Linked DNA regions of Homo sapiens: region 1 is linked to region 2. The links are contacts of gene promoters, found by promoter capture Hi-C in human tissues and cell types (Jung and others, 2019). All regions are on one chromosome and are shown on one strand. The core of a region is centred on a gene start or on the middle of the fragment in contact, and the rest is flanking DNA. Distances in the headings are between cores, read along the strand shown.

Region 1 (6,793 bases), core at 2,059-4,558, 130 kb after region 2:
ATAGGGGTTAGTGTAGGAGACCAGTTACAGAATGGCCTGGAGTCTTCAACTTTTGACCGGTGCAGGTGTGACCAGAGACCACCTCTGTGGCCACCTCAGATAGTCATCTCAGTCCAAGGATCCCAAAACACAAATCTAGAATTGCAAAGCCAGCCTTTATTTCCCTGGCAGGCAGCCTTGCCAGAAGGCAGAGAGGCAGTTCTGAATCATTCTCTCATTCACCAGTGGTGACATCCTTCAGTCCCTCACATCTCTGACAGAGCGGGACAGAATGGATATTTGGCTGACCTTGGTGAGACCTGGAGCTGCCTGTTTCTTCCCTAGGGGATCACCACGGCTCTAGGGCATTCTAGGATGAGGTCAGACCCCTTGGCCATTGGTGTTATTTTTTGTATAGCTTCAGACTGGGTTCCAGAACTTACCATTGAAAACAGAGCTTTTAGGCCAGGTGTGGTGGCTCACACCTGTAATCCCAGCACTTTGGGAGGCCGAGGCAGGTGGATCGCTTGAGCTCAGGAGTTCGAGAGCAGCCTGGGCAACATGGTGAAAGCCCGTCTCTACCGAAAAATACAAAAAAAAATAGCTGGGTGTGGTGGTACGTGCCTGTAGTCCCAGCTACTTCGGGGACTGAGGTGGGAGGATCACTTGAACCTAGGAGGTCGAGGCTGCAGTGAGCCAAGATCATGCTACTGCACTCCAGCTTAGGTGGCAAAGTGAGACCCTGTCTCCAAAAAAAGAAAATAGAGCTTTATAAGCAGAGAGAAGAAAATAATCATCTAAGACCATCTCTCCATTCGACATGAAGTGTACCTTTTCTAAAGACGGTTTCCAGCTGCAACGGCTCCACTTTGCAGGCTTGCAGGGTGTATACCTGCGCATTGGGAACTTGCTGGAACCCCTGATGCATTTTCCTTGAGAGCAGGGGTACTTCCGCCTTGCCGTTAGCTTGTGGAGAACGTGCTTCTTATTCCTGGCAGGCTTCAAGAACAGCTGCACATGTGCCGCTAACTGACCGCGTTGCCATTGGCGACCTGGACTCTGAACTCAGGTTTATTCTAAACCCAGTGAGAGGTGAGGGGGAGTGATGAAAGGGGATCAGCTGTATTTGTGTGTGTGTGTGTGTGTGAGCACCTGACAAATCTATGAAACCGAGTGAAAGGAGAAATGTTAGATTCTTTATTATTTTATTATATTTATATGGAAAGCTCGACTCTCCCTTTGGTAAGTCCGAAGCATGTTGTCTGTTCGACCGTGACTGTCTTCCTCAGTCTGTGCCTGTGATTCCAGTCACCCTGTAGTTACTGACAGAAATTGACTGGACTGTCATTGTGTGAAGTCTAGGAGGAAATGTCCATTTTAATTGTATGATTTGGTCATAAGTAAGGACTATATTTATGTCACCATTATTAGATATATGTACTTTTGTAATGACTGTGAAATACACTTTTCCCTCACTACGACTGCTTCTTTATTTGCTGATAAATCTTAAAACAACTAAGTACGTTGCAAATAATAGTACAGGTACCATCTTTTATGTGAAGTTCTTTTTCTTTTTTTGAGACAGGGTCTTGCTCTGTCACCCAGGCTGGAGTGCAGTGGCACAATCACAGTTCACTGCAGCCTCAACCTCTCCAGATTCAAGTGATCCTCCCATCTCAGCCTCCCAAGTAGCTGGGACTACAGTTGTGCACCACAATGCCTAGCTAATTTTTTTTGTATTTTGTAGAAATGGGGTTTCGCCATGTTGCTCAGGCTGATCTCAAACTCCTGGGCTCCAACGATCTGCCCACCTTGGCCTCCCAAAGTGCTGAGATTACAGGCGTGAGCCACTGTGCCTGGCCTTATGTAAAGCTCTTGACCTAGCATCTGACTGGAAACAAGCGGGAATTGCATTGGGGGGCATTTTCTGGGCCAGTTTCCCTGCCTTATTTTACCTGCAATAGGTGTGCCTACAAAAGTCTTTCTGACATACACACTGCAGGTGGCAGTTCAAGAAGAATCAACCTTTTTCATTTGGGGATATTAGGATCTTCCTTGGAGACTCTGAAAATGGCACACAAAGAATGGCAGTTATGAACGTGACTTCTAGATTTTGTCCTTGTAGGAGGCCTTGGTCATGGATAGGGGAAGAGGGATGATGGGATGGAATGGGAGGGTGGGATCTAGATGACCTCTTGAAATTGTCCCAGTTACTGCTTCCTTCATAACTGTTCACAAAACGTTTTTCATATATACCACCTTGTTTCCCCTGGGAAGTGAGGGGACGAAGCCTTAGAGGGTGACATAGCTAGAAAGTGGAGAAGCTCACTGTTCACTGTGCAAAGCCCCAGTAGTCGGATTCCGGGGAAAAGAACAAGTATCTAGTTTTGATGACAATGTTTTCTTGTAAGAATCCCAACACTTTAGAATAGAAAAGGACCTAAGATTCTCTGGCTCAGCCCCAGCCTTTCTGAAGAAGGGAAAACTAGGGACCCAGATGGTTTAAGGACACCCCAGAGTCCCCAGATGAGCTGGCATTTGAGCTGGTCTGGAGCAGAGTTTCTCCCTCAAAGAACACAGAGAAATCAGAGAGTGGCTGCCATGGTCAGAGGGGGATGTCAACAACAGATCAAGCCGTCATCACAACAGGTATTTCTGAAGTTCCTGCAGGGACTAGGTCTTGCATTTTTAAGTCCTTTTCAAAACTGTGCAGCTTCCTGAACCTTATGCTGTTTGTCCCATCCACTCTTGAAGCTGGGGAAAGACAGCTTTCTTTGGGAACTCTGTCTTTCTCAGTTGACTTCCCAAGTAAGCAGCAAACCCCTGGATAGCCTTGTTATCTACTTTAGGTATTAAGAGGCTATTGGGTTTTACTAGATTAAATCAATAAAACATTTCCTATAGAGCCATATCATACACTGAAGCAAATTCAGAAAGAATGCAAAACTGCTATCTTTTGGGGGAGTCTGGAAGCCTGTTGGTTAGTGTATTTATTTTCTTTGTGGGGTCTTCTGTGAGCTACAGGCACAGTAAGAATAATTCAGAGCGGTACTGGGAGTTGGTTCAATTTCATGTCATCACTTTTCAATGAAGGGAGTGCATTTCCTGAGTAGTAAATGAGTATATTATTTGTGGCAGCTTTTCTGTTAAGGGAGCTTTCCAGACATCTGGTTGCAAAGACAAATAGGATATATATTTGTACTTCTTCTCTGTGGACATGTTTTTGTGACACACAGTTATCTCTAGGAGTTGACGTCTGTGGGCACTAAGGGACTGAGGTTGGGGGAGAAAGCTGAGGAGGCTTTGGAAGAGAAGGTGAGGAGCATTTCAGGATTTGCAGTCCCCCTCCACATGTATCCACATCTGAGCTGGTGGTGTTCCAATAATGAGGCATTTGGGGCAACCAATTTTGGAAGGATAGAATAGCTTTATGTGGAGCAAACTTGAGGATCAATTGGAGTTGAGTGGTTTAAAACTTAAAGATGGCACAGGAAGCTGTATCATTTACAGGTGAAAAAAATAAATGGGTCTGACTTCAGGGCCTCAGCTCTTTGTATTTCCTACTTGGAAGATGGGCTATTAGCAATTTTGAAAGCAAAGGCTTTGGTTTACATTTAAACTCTATAATTTTTTTTAAAAATGTGTTCTTTCTAGTCTTGTTACCATAGCCAGCTGGAAAGGGCAAATTGCAAGCCTATATTGGGAACAAGTCTTCTTGCCGAAAGTAGGGCAGTGAAGTTCTTGGCAGATCTGAGATGAGAATGCCTTCCCCTGACTCCTTCATCAGTGTTCAGTGCTCACCTCCTCTGGCAACCAGTATGCTAGAAGATTAGGCTTTGCTATGATCACAAATTAATTCCAAATCTCTGTGACTTGCCCAATAAAGGTTTATTTCTTAAAATATTTTTATGAGGCTGGGCTGACCACAAAACGGCTGTCTTCCATATGGTGACTCAGGGATCCAGGCTACATCCAACTTGTGGCTGTGTCCCCTCAAAATGAAACGTCTTTGGCTGCTCCAGCACAGGAAGGCACGGCTGGAGAGTTTTCCACCAGCCCTTAAACATTCTATGAGGGGACTCATCACTTCTCCCACAGCCCATTGACTGGAACTGGTCACACTGCCTTGTCTGTGAGCAAGAGGCTGGGAAATACAGGAGCATAGGGCTACTTGGGATGCAGCTAATGTTTCTCCCATCTTAGGGAAGGTACAGCTGCCTGCCATTTATTTGTTCTTTGTTTTTGTTTTTGCTTTTGTTTTGAGATGGAGTCTCCCTCTGTCACCCAGGCTGGAATGCAGTGGCGCAATCTCGGTTCACTGCAACCTCCACCTCCTGGGTTCAAGCGATTCTTGTGCCTCAGCCTCCTGAGTAGCTGAGACTATAGGCACATGCCACCATGCCCAGCTAATGTTTGTATTTTTAGTAGAGACGAGGGTTTCACCGTGTTGGCCAGGCCGGTCTTGGACTCCTGACCTCAAGTGATATGCCCGCCTTGGACTCCCAAAGTTCCAGGATTACAGGCATGAGCCACCGTGCCTGGCCGAGATGCCTACCATTTAAAGGTACCCCAAAACTGGACTAGCCTTTTCCCATTGTCACACAATTATAGCACCTCTTAGTAAAGAGTTACTTTTTTAAAATAAAAGAATTAGCATTGGTAAATGTTAATATTTAAGGAGAGTGTTTTGGGCTGAATTCTTTCCTCCACAAATTCATATGTTGAAACCCTCAGCCCCAGTACCTCAGAATGTGACTACTTAGAGATAGGGCATTTAAAGAGGTGAGTAAGTTAAAATGAAGCCTTTAGGGAGGAACCTAATCAAATCTGACAAGTGCCCTTATAAAAATGTGAGGTCTGGGCTGGGCGTGGTGGCTCATGCCTGTAATCCCAGCACTTTGAGAGGCTGAGGTGGGCGGATCATGAGGTCAGGTGTTTGAGACCAGCCTGGCCAACATAGTGGAACCCCGTCTCTACTAAAAATACAAAAAATTAGCTGGGCGTGGTGGCAGGTGCCTGTAATCCCAGCTACTTGGGAGGCTGAGGCAGGAGAATCGCTTGAAGCTGGGAGGCAGAGGTTGCAGTGAGCCAAGATCGCGCCACTGGCACTCCAGCCTGGGCGACAGTGCGAGACTCCATCTCAAAAAAAACAAAAAAACAAAAACAAAAAAAAATGTGAGATATGGATACACAATGGGACACCAGACGGAGGAAAGACCAGGTGAGGACACAGAGAAGGCAGCCTCAGGAGTGAAGCTTCAAGACGAACCAGCTCTGCTAAAACCTTGATCTCAGACTTCCATCCTCCAGAACTGGGAGGATATAAATGTCTGTTGCTTAGATCCCGGTGAGGTATTTCATTACAGTAGCCCAGGCCGACTAACACGGGGAAAAGGTCAGATAGTAAAATTTACATCTTCTAGGAATCTCATATGTTTTGCCCCATATGCCAAATTTCCATTTATCCTTTTCTGACTAAATCACTCCCAGAAAATTTCTCTTTTTTGGAGTGAAATTCCACCCTCTCCTCTCCTCTCCTTTTCTTTTCTTTCCTTTTCGAAGCAGAGTCTCACTCTGTCACCCAGGCTGGAGTGCAGTGGCGCGATCTCGGCTCACTGCAACCTCTGCCTCCTGGGTTCAAGCAATTCTGCTTCAATCTCCTGAGTAGCTGGAACTACAGGCATCCGCCGCCACACCCAGCTAATTTTTTGTATTTTAGTAGAGACGGGGTTTCACCATGTTGCCTAGGCTGGTCTTGAACTCCTGAGCTCAGGCAATCCGCCTGCCTTGGTCTCTCAAAGTGCTAGGATTACAGGCGTGAGCCTCTGTGCCCAGCCTGAAATTCCACCTTTTCTAAGTGTTTCTTGTGCTTTAAGCTCAGTGTGCCAATTATTTTCAAGTTTCTTTCTTCCTTTAATCCAGAGGTCTGCAAACTTTTTCTGTTAAGGACCAGAAAATAAATATTTTAGGCTTAGGAGATGACTGTTGCATATTAGTCTGTTGCGTATTACTCTGCATTGTTTTTAAGTTTAGTTTAGTTTTTGTTTTTGCTATAACCCTTTGAAAATATGAAAACTGTTCTTATCTGGTGGACCTACAAAAACAGGCCATAGCAGATTTTGGCCCTCAGGTAGTTATTTTGCTAACCCCTGATTTAATCTTCACAAAAACTCCGTGAAGTGTCATATTTTCTCTATTTTATAGATTAGTTTTGTGGGTTTTATAGATTGTTTTTGTTTTTAGTTTTTGTTTGTTTTTTGAGACAGAGTCTCACTCTGTTACTTATGCTGGAGTACAGTGGTACAATCATGGCTCACTGCAGCCTCGACCTCCTGGGCTCAAGTGATCCTCTCACTTCAGCCTCCCAAGTAGTTGGGACTACAGGCACATGCCACCATGCTAGGCTAATTTTTTAAGTTTTTTGTAGAGATGGGGTCTCACTATATTGCCCAGGCTGGTTTCCAACTCCTGGGCTCAAGCAATCCTCCTGCCTCAGCCTCCCAAATTGCTGGGAATACAGGCGTGAGCCATCATGCCCAGTTGACACAATCAGGACTTCTGCAATCACACACCACAACTTTCATGTTAGGAACTCACCACTTGAAAGACAGAGAGGGCTCCTTTTGTGACATCTGGGCCAGTGGGCTCTCAGAAGGGCCTGTGGCTAATGGTAACAAATTTGTTAAGAGTTTTGCAAAATGATTCAATCTAAGGGAACTTGGAGGTGGGGAGAGACCCTGGCTCTTTTCTTTGCCACTCCTTCCTTCGTTGCTTTTTGTAGATTTCCAGGGTTGGTTGCCAGCCACAGGAATGG
Region 2 (7,277 bases), core at 3,221-5,720:
GTCTGGCTCCCAGGAGGTGACAGTGAAGAGGTGGGCAGGGCCATATCATGACAAAGCGCTTGGGGAATCTTTTCTGCAGGGGTCTGTTGAACAGCTTTCGAGTGCAGGGAAGTGATATGATCTGATTCCCATTTTTTTTTTTTTTTGAGATGGAGTCTTGCTCTGTCGCCCAGGCTAGAGTGCAATGGCATGATCTTGGCTCACTGCAACCTCTGCCTCCAGGGTTCAAGCGATTCTCCCTGCCTCAGCCTCCCGAGTAGCTGGGATTACAGGTGCCTGCCACCACGCCCGGCTAATTTTTGTATTTTTAGTAGAGATGGGGTTCCGCCATGTTGGCCAGGCTGGTCTTGAACTCCTGACCTCAGGTGATCTTCCCCCTTGGCCTCCTTAAGTGCTGGGATTACTGATTCCCATTTTGAAGAACTGGTTTTGGCTTTGGCGTGGAAGCAAAGGATGCCACTTAGGAAGTGAGAGAAAGGGTCACAGGCGGGTATAGGATTTGCTGATGGGTTGGATATGAGAATCGAGAAGCAGAGGAAGCAAAGGATGACTGCTAAATTTTGGGGTGAATTTGGGTGAAGCCTTAGGAAAGAAGCACAGAGGGGTGTGTGTGGGTGTGTGTGTGTGTGTGTGTGTGTGTGTGTGTGTGTATCCCAAGTTAAATGTGAGTGAGATCCTATCAGACAGCCCGGCAGAGTTGAAGAGGGTTGACATAGGACTCTGGTTTCAGGGAAGAGATCCAACCTGGAGATTATGCTTTTGGATTCATCATTTACCAGGGCAATTGTGCTGGTGGACCTCTGGGGCATTCTTGAGTGACTTCTCTTAGTTTATGATGATGATAGTCGTATTGATGGAAGGTGTGAAAGCCAAAATTCACCTTGTACTTATAATGTGCCAGGCACTGATCTGAGTGCTTTGTGTGCACAATCTGATTGACTCCACACAATTCCTTAATATCCCATTTTTGCAGCTTAAGGAAACTGAAGCATCAAAAGGTAAGTGTCACGACTCATTTTTAGAGAAGCATTTCATTGTGGGGATGCTGGCAGTAGCCTACTCTGCAATAGCACACTGGGCTGCCTTTGCACACGAGTCTTTATGCCTGAGGAACCCTTTCTTCCTCAGCCATTGCATTGTGCACGTTCAACAGCTGGGTGTTGTGAAAGAATAATGCTGGACACGAACTCTGGGGACACGGGTTCAAGTCCAGTCTGTTATTTATGGGACACTTTGTTTTGGGAACATGAACATATAGAGTTCACAGGATGTCTTCCAGGCAAAGTTGATCCATGTCTGCCGTCTTTGCTTTGCCATCCGTTCCTTCTCCAGTTACCAGACGGCTTCTGCCAGCCTAACCCCTTCTAGCCAACTCTCATTTCCTGGCTGTGCCAGCCTGATTACTTCTAATTGTCTTTGACTGCTTCCAGCTGGGTCTAGAAGCTGGCGTTCTGTGGGAGCACAGAGGCAGTCTCCCAGCCATATGGGGCGAGGAGATGGGGAAGGAAAAGGGAAGGAAGGAAGCAGCTGGTACGAGTCAACTGAGAAAGCTTCCCAAGGCTTCACAGCCCACTGGGATTGCTCCTGTTTCTGAAAGGGTTAACTCATCCAAGTTAGAGAATGATCCATCTTCGACAAGACAAACAATTATATTTGTTGATCCCCAAAGGCAACCAACAATGCACCTAAAAATGCTTTTAGAAAGTCACTGGTAACTTGTCTCCCCCAGGACTTGATGGGGTCTTGCTCTCAGGAGCAGTAAAACCCCACTTGAGAATCAGTGAATGATTACTTTCATTCATTTATTCAACAGATATTTACTGAACAATGATCATGTCTCAGACACCGTGCTAGGTACTGTAGGGCAAATAATGAAATTAGACACAGCTCCTGTCCTCAATAAGTCTAAAAGAGAAGAAAGTCATAGATAATAAGTACTACAGGACATAAGAGGAATGTGAAATGACTATATGAACTAAGAGACAACAGAGGGAGATGGGCTTCTTGCAGCTTATTGGTTGGGGAGGTCTTCATGGGAAAGGGAACACCTGTGCTAGGTGGAAATGAGTCGGAGACAGCAGACTGGGGGCGGGCAAGGCACAGGCAAAGGTGTGGCAGTAGGGAGGCCGGATCCCGGCCAGCACCACCCCCTACCCGGGAACTCCGCAGGAGGATAAGGCTAGAAATTAGTTTGGGCTAATTAGCAGAGAATTTTCAAGGCTGCATTACTGTTGCATTGAATAATCAGATGCTTTCTGCACACTGAATATGAGGGCAATATATTGTGTACTAATTTGTTTTACATAAAGACATTTCTGGGGTGATTTCTTGTTAAACAGGCCATTTCAGAGACTAGGACTTGTAGTTCCAAAACCAGTTACAAAGGGGACGCACGGATAGGATTTGGACTTCTCTTTGGCATCCATCCCAGCTTATGGAATTAGCAGTGAACTTGAATCAAACCCAGGCAGCAGGCTTGAAAAAGATTTAATGGGCCTGGATTTTCTCTCTTCTTCACCCCTTTCCTGACCTCTACCCTGAGAGGATAATTAAAAGGAAAGAAAATCTCTATTTCATTGTAAATGTCATCCACCATTTTTATGAAACTTTTTTTTTTTAGACCATAAAAATACTTTGGGGAACAGTCTCAGAAATTTCCCTTAAACCTTAATAAATAAATCTCTAAATTTTCATAAAGAGTGCATGTCCTAACATTAAAAAAAATCATACTCTATTAACACAACATTGGGTGGACTCCCAAACTGTTTCTGATGGAAGATTCAGAGTGGTTTTTTTTTTTTTTTTTTTGAGAAGGAGTCTTGCTCTGTCGCCCAGGCTGGAGTGCAGTGGCAAGATTTCAGCTCACTGCAACTTTCGCCTCCTGGATTCAAGCAATTCTCTGCCTCAGCCTCCCGAGTAGCTGGGATTACAGGCGCCCGCCACCACGCCCGGCTAATTTTTGTATTTCTAGTAGAGACAGGGTTTCACCATCTTGACCAGGCTGGTCTTGAACTCCTGACCTCGTGATCTACCTGCCTCGGCCTCCCAAAGTGCTAGGATTACAGGCGTGAGCCACCGCGCCCGGCCTCAGAGTGGTTTTTACCCCAAAGTGAGCTCCATATTCCTCATTCTTTAGACAGTTGCTGGACATCTATTCTGCTGGCACCACGCTAGTTACCATTCCCCTCCCATGCAACTGTCCTGTTAAGATTTGATTACTGAATTAGAGACATTAAAAGGATTGAATGAACGTTACTGAAATAGTCAAGGCCGGTGGGAGCAAAGAAGTCCCTTCAGCACAGCAAGAAAAACATTTTAAGCTGTATCTTTAATATTGGTAAACGGGAACAATGAGACAGAACAACAGAAAACGCAGTATGTTCCGTCATAATAACTGAGGCTGGTGACTTGTAACAGGTAGGTGGATGAATATAGTAGCGTATTTAAAATTAGATGTATTGAAAGCAGGCATTTCTCTGCGTCCCTCTTCAGATGGGTCAGCGAGACCCCCAGACACTGGATTGATGACAGCTGTTGTTCCCCCACCCCCCACTCCCAATCTCAAAGCATTGCTATGGGTCGATGTCATACTTGTTTACTCAGGAATAAACAATGAAAGGAACTTTGTTAGGACCAAATCCTTCCTTTCAGCTCTGATGTTGCATGATCGGGGTGAAGTTTCCATCAAATGCGGGCACCTCAACAGGTAGCATTTTGTAAATGCCTCCTCCTACCTACCCTCCTCCTTCTCCCTCACAAGATTCTTCATTTTCGGTTTGAGAAGACGTTGGGGATCCTGGGAGAGGGTCCAGTGTCGTCAGGGCAGTTGCAATTGTTTATGCGATGAGCACAGTCACAGCGCTTGCAGAACAAAAGCATCGAAGAGAGGCGAGCGCCGGTCCACCTCCTGCAATCACAGGCATCATTTCAATGGAAGGCAAAGAAGGTGTAAGCTACAAGCAGAGGCAGCAAACGCCCTGGTTCCTACATTGCTGCTGCTACTATTACTGCTGTGGCTGCGCCTCCTCCAACACAGCCAACCAGGCTGCGTGCGAGCCCGGGCAGACGCCTGGCCGCCTCCCCACCCTTTCTTCCAGCCATCCATCTATCCTTCCACCCCCGGTCCAGGGGGCCCTACTGTGTGGCGGACTCAGGGCCGGGCACGCAACCCGACTCACAGTCCACGGAGTTCGAGAGCCTTCCCCCTTCCCCCCGCCCCGGGTGGGTGCGGCCAGTGGGGGATTTCACCGCCGAAAGGTCCAGAAAACCCAAGCCCAGAATCCGGGCAAGAGGCGCAGCCGGAGGCGGCCCGACCTGGGCGGCCCGGGAGCGCGCGCCTCCGAGGCCGCGCAGGTTCTCCCTGTCTGGCGCTCAGGTGGCTTCTCCGTCCACTCCGCCGCTCCCCTCCCCGGGCCCTCCCCTCTCCAGCGAGGGTCGAGTTTGACTGTGGCGCGCGGGGAAGGAGGGGCTACTAGGGATTTGAAAGTGCACGGGCTGCGGAGTGGAGCTCGCATCTGTTCCCGCCGCCCGCGAGCGGATTAAATTTCTGCAAATTCAAACTGAATGGGGCTTTCTTCTGCTGCCTTCCAGAGGGCGCCGGCAGCCCGCCGCGCGCTTCTCTCCGGCGGGAGCGGCCGCCCAGCGCACGGCTAGGAGCGATCGCGGGAGCCCGACCCAAGCCCGTGCGGGCCAGACGGCGGCGGCGAGGCGGAGGCTGCGGAGGCACCCGGGCTCCCGGACCCAGGCACCCGGACCCCGGGACCCAGGCGCCGCCGGACCGCGCCCCACCCCGCGCGCCCGAGCAGGGCGACTGTCATTAGCTTCCTGGACGGGACCCGGGGCGGGATCCTGGTGTCCTGAAAGGGGCCCGGGCGACCCTAAGAGGAAGAACTTTTGGGGGCGGGGTCCCCGGTCCCGCGTCCCCTGGGCAGCCGCTATTGTCTACGCGCCTCGCTGGGCGGCGCGGGGGGCGTGATCGCGGCGGCCCCGGGCTCTGGGTGCGGAGACCCAGGCGGGGCTGGGCCCAGGGCGGCGGCGGGAGAAGCCGGGGAAGCCGAAGAGCCTGGGGAGGAGGAGCTGCGAGCGCGGGAGACGAGCAGGAGCCGCGCGGGCCGCGGCGAGCGCGATGCCGGCGGCGGCGGGGGACGGGCTCCTGGGGGAGCCGGCGGCGCCTGGGGGCGGCGGCGGCGCGGAGGACGCGGCCAGGCCCGCGGCGGCCTGCGAGGGAAGTTTCCTGCCTGCCTGGGTGAGCGGCGTGCCCCGCGAGCGGCTCCGCGACTTCCAGCACCACAAGCGCGTGGGCAACTACCTCATCGGCAGCAGGAAGCTGGGCGAGGGCTCCTTTGCCAAGGTGCGCGAGGGGCTGCACGTGCTGACCGGGGAGAAGGTGAGTCTCCCGGGCGCCGTGGGGCTGGGGCACAGGGGCGGGAGTCGGCGGCCAGGACCCCGCGGGGAGCACTGCACTGGGAGTCCCAGTGTGCAGTCCCGGGCCAAGCGCCTTCCCCCTCCGCCCGGCTTTCCTGTTGGGTTAAAACGCGCGCTCAGCATCTCGCAGCCTTTCCCGAAGGCGGCCTGCGGTCCGCTGCCCGGGGGTTGGGGGCTTGGGAGGGGACGGCCTTGCCCCGGGAAGCGTCCCGCGCGGCCGTTCTGCTCGTGGAAGGGCGCCGCCTGGCGACACTAGCGCGGGGGGCGGGATGGGGCCCCTCTGCCCTTCAGGCCGGCAGGGGCGGCGGATCCGTGGCGAGGCGGGAACCAGGGCTAGAGGAGGTGGGCTCTTATGTCGGGGGGCGGGGGGGGCAGGAAAGCTAACAGCCAGCCTCTGGGGGGAGCTTAGAGTCTGATCCCCGTCCTGGGCTCTCGGAGGAGGTGGGAGAAGGCTGAGATCCTGCATTCCTTCCCACCTGTGGGCTCCGGCAGCTAGGGAATGTTTTTTGGCAGCTAGGGAATTTTTCGTGCTCAGAGGAGGGTTTTTGCCTCCGCCCTCCACTTGTCCATCCCTCAACCTGTGCTCCTCTCTATCCACTCAACCCTCCCACCCCTGCCCCCTCATCACCCACCATTCTCATCCCCGCCATTCTCATCCCCTTCTCTCCGTTCCCCCAGCTCCTCTGTGCCCTCCAGCCTCAGGGTGGGAGCTGCAGTGAAGACCCTGCTACTGGCAGGAACAGAACTACAGATACCTCCCCCCAGAGACTGGGAGATGCCTTCTTATCTTTCTAGAAGAGGGGAAAGGAAAGGGGACCTCCGCGAGACCAAAAGGGGCACCTCTCCAGCCTTGTTGGAAGTTAGATGGTTGTGAACCCTTGCCAGGCGAGGGGCAGGTAAGATGGAAGGTGTAACTTAGAGCTGTGAGAAGAAACCCAAGAGCTTGGTGACTCGCTTTTGAGGCCGGGTCACCCCAGGCTGGAGCTGCCCGAGCTCAGAGCCAATCCAGGCTGGAGCTGTCCCAAGCTCCTGTCATCTCGGGCTCAAGACTGCCCCCAGGCTGGGGGTGGCTCAAACCTGGAGGGGGACCAGCTCCTTTGTGTGGTCCGTGGGTCAGGGAGGCGTCAGCCGCAAGGAGGGAAGGCGGAGTTCACTTCCCAACCGAGCAGGTGGCCTGGGAGCCGAGCCCTCTGCCTTCCGACCTGGGGGCCTCTGCCCAGCCTGGGGCTGCCCTGTGAAACCCCTGGTCACAGGGCCAACCTGCCCTTCCTGCCTGTCTCTAGCCTCACCCCACCTGTAGTTCCCTCCCCACCCCATTTCCCCTCTTTGTCTTGGAGCCTTTTGCCTGTGAATGCAGGTCTCCGTCACCCTTGTCATTTTCCCTGTGTTCCCTACAGCCGTTTTGAGTGAGGCACCGCTTTATTATGGGTATGTGGGGATAGAGTGAGTAGTTTTTAGAAGTGCCTCCTGCCTGAATTCCCATGCAAAAAAGGAGCGTTCAGTATGAACTTGAGTAAGTCTTCAAAGAAAAAGGAAAAACCTCCAAACCTCGTTCTAGTCCGCAGGAGCGAGGCACACTTACACTCCTCGATTCGATTCGATTCGATTCGTAGTGAGCTGTCTGACTTCCACACTGCGGGTCCGTTCAGGGCGCGAGGATGCGGCTAATTAGAGTGAGCTCTCTTCTCCTGGCCCTGTGTAAATTCCTGTTGGCACTGGCGATGGAAGTTTATTTTCATTGGAAACGTATAGGATTCAGGCTGGTTGTGCATATTTCCTCTCTAAACATAACGGAAAGAAGCGAGTCTTTATGCTCACAACGTCATGGCAAACACTGCAAGTACATTCTTCTC

What was found. The method cuts DNA at HindIII sites, captures the fragments that hold promoters and counts their contacts. A contact is called where the count stands out against the background at its distance.
Region 1: a fragment that was not itself captured here is called in contact with the fragment with the promoter of HUNK in region 2 in 2 of the 25 tissues and cell types used here (lymphoblastoid cells and thymus).

The regions. Positions count from the first base shown.
Region 1 is chr21:32,000,548-32,007,340 of GRCh38, forward strand. HUNK (hormonally up-regulated Neu-associated kinase) reads left to right here. Exons shown (of 11, transcript NM_014586.2): 11 at 1-3,517. Among named protein-coding and RNA genes, the nearest start is that of LINC00159, 82 kb to the right of the region's middle. The HindIII fragment of the contact is 6,747 bases long and covers 1-6,682 here.
Region 2 is chr21:31,868,550-31,875,826 of GRCh38, forward strand. HUNK (hormonally up-regulated Neu-associated kinase) reads left to right here and starts at 4,471. Exons shown (of 11, transcript NM_014586.2): 1 at 4,471-5,386. The coding sequence starts at 5,126. RefSeq lists silencers at 4,589-4,638, 5,565-5,744. The HindIII fragment of the contact is 17,092 bases long and covers 1-7,277 here.